Linked DNA regions of Homo sapiens: region 2 is linked to region 1. The links are contacts of gene promoters, found by promoter capture Hi-C in human tissues and cell types (Jung and others, 2019). All regions are on one chromosome and are shown on one strand. Each heading gives the region's core, a stretch centred on a gene start or on the middle of the fragment in contact. The rest is flanking DNA. Distances are from core to core; before and after follow the strand shown.

Region 1 (3,175 bases), core at 1-2,500:
AGCTTCCCAAGTAGCTGGCACTACAGGTGTGTGCCACCATGCCCAGCTAATTTTTGTGTTTTTTTTTTTTAGTAGAGATGGGGTTTCACTATATGTTGGCCAGGCTAGTCTCGAACTCCTGACCTTAGGTGATCCACATGCTTTGGCCTCCCAAAGGCCTGGGATTACAGGCGTGAACCACTGCGCCTAGCCTGTTAGCAGCTCTTAAAATCCAGAGGCATAAGCCTGTATTTTTGAGGGTTTATGCATGGAATCCAGCTAGAAACTGAGTCTATTACAGATCCCATTTATTATCCTTTCTATTCCAAGAAGCCTTTTTTTCTCCTTCCCCACATCTGTTTATGGAAGAAAATGAAGTTTGGGGTGTGGTTTGAGGAATCAGCTAGATTCTTATGATCTGTCACATGCTTGGATGTTGGGGAAGCATTTGGAGAAGCTCATGTGACTTGTCCTAGATTGGGGATTTTAATTGAGACAGATGATGTTTATCGGGCATCCCACCACCTGAGAGTTTTAGCAACAGAGTCACATGTGAGTCCATCAGAACTTACGGCATTGATTCAAGTGCTGTCATAAATAACCAGGACTGCTGTTTTTGGTTACTTTTAAAGACAGTTTCATCTGGACTTTCTGGGCATATCCTCCTTCAGCAAAACCACATTAGGCTGGGAAAACTATTCTGCCTGGAAGTAATGACAACTTGCAACCAACAAGCTTATAAAAATACAAAGAATTCTGGAGCCTATGGCTTCCATTACATTATTCTTTTATAGCCTTTTATGTTCATTACCGCATCCCAGAGGTGAGAGTCAGACACAAATATGAAAATAGGTTTCAATGTTGGAGAGGTAAATCCTAACAGGAAAGGGGTAGGAAAAGATATAATCCCCCAATATTAAAATAAAGATATTGAAGAAGAAGGATGGGAGAGACTAGGGCTGTGTCCTTCCTTTTACTCACCAAAAGAGAAAGTAAGCTCCTATTTGAGTCAATAGATATTGAGGTCTTGTTATTTGCCACCAAAGACAGTCTTGTGAGACTAAATAGCTAGTAATTCCCTACCCTGGCACACATGCTGCATACACACAGAAACACTGCAAATCCACTGCCTCCTTCCCTCCTCCCTACCCTTCCTTCTCTCAGCATTTCTATCCCCGCCTCCTCCTCTTACCCAAATTTTCCAGCCGATCACTGGAGCTGACTTCCGCAATCCCGATGGAATAAATCTAGCACCCCTGATGGTGTGCCCACACTTTGCTGCCGAAACGAAGCCAGACAACAGATTTCCATCAGCAGGTAACGTTTGCAACTTCCTAGATCTTTTAGCTTTTCATTCCTGTCAATTCTCTGAGTATTAGGGATGTAGTGACTTGAGGATCACAATAAACTTTTAGCCTCTGCAGATGAAAACAGAGATGCACTTCTTAGGTCATTCCCTGGCTAAATAAAATCTGCCTGGAAATCTGTAGAATTCCTTGTATGATTTATATATATACATACATGATTGTTAGTAAAAGCAAAGTATATAGGGAATCATTTCCCCATCCTTCAAGAGTGGCCTTTCTGCAGTGTTTTCTACTTTGGCCAACAAGGATCAAAACGGTTAACTCCTTAGTGAGGAGGAGGAGAGTGGTATGGGGAGGTAGTAGCTCAGTGCTTCCTGTTCACTGAGACATCTCAAAGCCCTTAACACTCTAGTTTTTAAATGTCCTACTGGACATTTTGCCAGTTTGCAAAATTACATGTAAATGGACTATAAGCAATTGTGTAAGCCATATGTCATGCTGCAGGCTGCAAATTGTTCTTAAAATGGAGGATTTGTAATTAAGAAAGCCAATGCAAGAAATGAGTGAAGCTAACTAGAGTAAACTTATGAAAAGCTGTGAATTTCATCATCATAGAACATTGCTTTTCAGTCTGAACATTCTTCTAACAAACCTTGGATCTGAGGCTTCTTGTCCTTTGCGGCAGCCACAGTGGGTTTTTGTTGTTAGGGGAAAAATAAAAAACCTTGCCCGCAGCATCTGGTTAAGATTAGGGCAGTTTCCTGCCTAAGGAGGGAAGGGAGAGAAAAAGGAAGAAGAAATGCATAAGGAGAATGAGGAGATATACAATGTCTCAGAAAACAGGAAACATTGTCCTATTTTCCCTTGTCCTCTTCTGACAAGATCTGGGAAAGTACCAGAATTTAGGCACGAAAGAGAAGAACGCCTCGAAGAAATGATCAGGAGGCAAAACTTAGACGGAAATCTCTCCTTTGTGTATTCTGAACCCCACTACCACCTTGCTATTTGTCTGTCTCCAAGCCTGCTAGGGACCCTGGAGGAAACGCACTGAGCCCATTCTGATTGTCCAGTTTCTATCCCCCATTTCTGGTTGTGTACGTGTGTGTGTGTGTGTGTGTGTGTGTGTGTGTGTGTGTGTGTGTGAGAGAGAGAGAGACAGAGAGAGAAACAGAGAGAGTGTGTGTTGCCTAAATCTCCCGAGAGAGAGAGAGAGAGAGAAAGAGAGAAATGGCTAAATCCCCCTAGATCAAAGTCCTTGGAACCAGATGTACCAGCATCCTATCTAAACACAGGCCCCTCCTGACTATCATTGTTTTATCACCCTTTTTCCGTCTACCTTTCTCTTCCTCATAAAGCCTAGTTTTCCTCTGTTTCCCTGCCAAATGGAAGAGTTTTCCCTAACTACATTCTTCTGCAGGATGTGGGGGCTCAAGGTTCTGCTGCTACCTGTGGTGAGCTTTGCTCTGTACCCTGAGGAGATACTGGACACCCACTGGGAGCTATGGAAGAAGACCCACAGGAAGCAATATAACAACAAGGTGCCTGGGGTCCTGGAGGGGGCATGGCAGGAAGGCTGAGACCTGAGCTCTCTCATCTTAGCTTCCAGACTCCCTTCTTCAATCCAAATGCTTTATTCCAAGCAAATCAGTCCCTCTTCCCTAACTCATGTTAACATACGGTTTTCATTCCTATGCTTCAAATCATCCTCTGTCAAACTGTATCCTTCCTTTGCTTTATAAGTGTGTTACATTTCTCTTTTGGGAAGAGTTCTAAGATTAATGCTGTTAATCTATAAGCAATTTTTCTGTCTCTCCAGAGCTTTGTGTTGTATTTGTTTACATATTATCTCTTCTTGCAGGCTCTTAATTCCATGGTTAGTTCCCCAACTA
Region 2 (2,708 bases), core at 1-2,500, 240 kb before region 1:
GAATAACCAATGCATGTTATGAATCAATAACCAGGTAAGTCAGTAACAGTTCATGTAAGCAACACTGGCTGGCTTAGCAACTGGGTTTTAGATACCAGGACTTTTCAGATCCGTCAACAAAGACCCTGGCTCATCACCAAACACTTACTGGTTGCATCTCTGTGAACACTGAAGAGAGGCTATTCCAAATATCCTCCAGGCCAATCCTGACCCGTTTCCAAAAAGCCAGGGCTGGGCAGGGGCTGGCGGGTGGCAGGCTGGGACTGCTTCTGAGGTGGATGGTGGGGAAGGGGGTAGTGGTGGTCCTGGTACTGGTGGTGCTCTGAGAGGCACAGTTGGTGTCAGTACAGAGACTTGTGTCCAGGGGGCACTCTTCCCGAAGTCGGTTGCAGGGACATTGTTGATAGGTGCAAGGCTTGTGCTCCGTGCGGAGCTGGCTCAGCGCCCCAACTCGAAGGCGCCCGGAAAGGCCGTGCAGCTTCCCAGACCGGCTCCGGCTCATGGTGCCCGACTTGCAGTGGCAGTGCCACGGGCCCCAGGGCATCAGCACCAGCCGCAGATCCTCAGGAGATGGCATGGCTGTGGGTGAGGGTGACGGCCACCGGCTCGGGGTAGACCCAGGTGTGGACCACTGGCTCAGGGTGGCCTGCGAGCCTGGCAGGTCCTCAGTAGACCTCCCGGGGGAGCGCGGCAGGCTTGAAGTCAGCCTGATTTCAGGCTCCTGACTATTGGCTATAAACCTCGTGCTGGAACTCCCCGCTGTATTGGGAGTCGCACTGGGAAGCTCTCTGCTGGTGCTATCCTTTCCGGCATTAATCACAACCCCCTCTTCTGAAGACCCATCCTCCTCGTTAATGGCGGACGACCGGCTAAAGCCGGTGGACACCGTGGCGGCCAAGAGCTCGGCAGCCGCTGGTCCAGCCAGGCGGTCGGCGTCGGCCATGGCATCATTCTCGTCCTCTAGGATTATCCTTGTCTTCCGGGGAAGACCAGTCCGGGCGGTGCTCCGGTAGCTGCGGGTCATGGGGCCCCCAAAGCGTAAACTGACCCGCTGCATTTCGGTCGGAGTCTGGGTCAGGCCTTGGGCCCCCGCCGCCCGGGGACCCAGATTCAGCAGCAGGACCCACAGCAGCGCGCCGGCGGCGGGGACCATGGGGCTGGGCTCTTGGGGTTGGGAGGGTGGCCAGTGAGGCAAGCCCTGCCTCCTACCTTCGCTCCCTCCCTTCCGCTGTAGACCCACCGGGTCGTTTGAACCGAGGCCCGCGGGGAAGGGGGTGGGGTTCGACGCGCAGGCGCGCTCGCGCGGGCCGCGCGGGGTGCTCCTAAGGAACCTCTGCGGCAAGAACTCTGCCAGAACCGAAGGTTTGGGATGCAAGGGGTGGTGAAAGAGTCGTTCACTTCTTTGGAGCAGAGCTTAAATGTCTCATCGCAGTTTATTAGCCTCTACAGTTCTAAATTTACTAAAGAGGGCAAAAATACAGGTTTTGAAAGCACTCCTTCCCAGGCTCACAGGCAGCAGACATGACTTAGAAGGAAAAAGGGCATACAGCGGTTCTTCAAGATTTAATGAGCTGACTCTCCTGGCTCCCAGCAGGCAGGCTGGCTGTCAGGTAAGCCTCTTCCATCCAAGGTGGAAGGATCACAGTCCCTCCAGTTAGACAGGAGGAAAATTAGGACCCAAAAAGATGAAGTTATTTGCCCAAGGTTCTACAGCTAAAGTAGGATTAAAACCCAGAGCTCTGGCCGAGCGCGGTGGCTCACACCTGTAATCTCGGCACTTTGGGAGGCCGAGGCGGGCAGATCACGAGGTCAAGAGATCGAGACCATCCTGGCCAACATGGTGAAACCCCGTCTCTACTAAAAATACAAAACAATTAGCTGGGCGTGGTGGCGTGCGCCGGTAGTCTCAGCTACTCGCTGAGGCTGAGGCAGAAGAATGGCTTGAACCGGGAGGCGGAGGTTGCAGTGAGCCGAGATCGCACCACTGCACTCCAGCCTGGCGACAGAGCGAGACTCCGTCTCAAAAAACAAAAAACAAAAAAACCCAGAGCTCTGCATATCCCATACAAAATGACCCTACATTCAGCCTTCCGTCCCAGCAACTGGAATGAAAGTCACCCAGCAGATCAGTTTCCCAGCCTCAAAGCCCTGCTGAAAGTAGGGTCATGCAAAGGACAAAATCCCACTGAGAAGTGAAGATCCGGTGGTACTGAGGTTGGGGATAAGATGATTTACAAAACAGTTCAGATGTTTCAGGGATTCAGGTGTAGGCAGATCACTAACTGGTTCTAAGGCCTTTTATCCAGTCCTGTGCTATGTCCCTCCTGAGCCATGGAGATCCCGGTCCAGCCTAGGAGAGGGAGAGGGGGAGGAGAGAAGTGGTTCAGGGGGTAGGACTTGGGTTTTATTTTCTGGTTTGGGGAGAGAAGCCAGGTGAATTGGAAGAGCTAGATGATTGGGTTGAGTCATCATTTAGCACTTTTGCTCCCTAACACCCTCTCCCCCACTGGATATCATCTGTTCACTGCCAACACATCTCTTCCTAATTTCTAGGGCCAGTCTGAATCTCCTCTGCACTGTGATTATTCCTTTATTCCTTATTGCCTCTGCACTTATATGTATAGGTTTTTTTTTTTTTTCATTTATTCTTGTTGGATGCAGTAGTGTCCTTCATTTCTTCTCTGGGTGTGTGCAGTTTCCCCATATAC

Evidence for each region. The method cuts DNA at HindIII sites, captures the fragments that hold promoters and counts their contacts. A contact is called where the count stands out against the background at its distance.
Region 2: a contact is called between the fragment with the promoter of C1orf56 here and the fragment with the promoter of CTSK in region 1, in 1 of the 25 tissues and cell types used here (adrenal gland).

Annotation. Positions count from the first base shown.
Region 1 is chr1:150,806,335-150,809,509 of GRCh38, reverse strand. CTSK (cathepsin K) reads left to right here and starts at 1,250. Exons shown (of 8, transcript NM_000396.4): 1 at 1,250-1,296; 2 at 2,704-2,824. The coding sequence starts at 2,705. The HindIII fragment of the contact is 16,762 bases long and covers 32-3,175 here.
Region 2 is chr1:151,046,293-151,049,000 of GRCh38, reverse strand. C1orf56 (chromosome 1 open reading frame 56) reads right to left here and starts at 1,250. Exons shown (of 2, transcript NM_017860.5): 1 at 149-1,250. The coding sequence starts at 1,153. It overlaps BNIPL (BCL2 interacting protein like), which reads right to left. Exons shown (of 10, transcript NM_138278.4): 10 at 1,281-2,350. The coding sequence ends at 2,314. RefSeq lists enhancers at 353-592, 873-922. The HindIII fragment of the contact is 7,874 bases long and covers 1-2,708 here.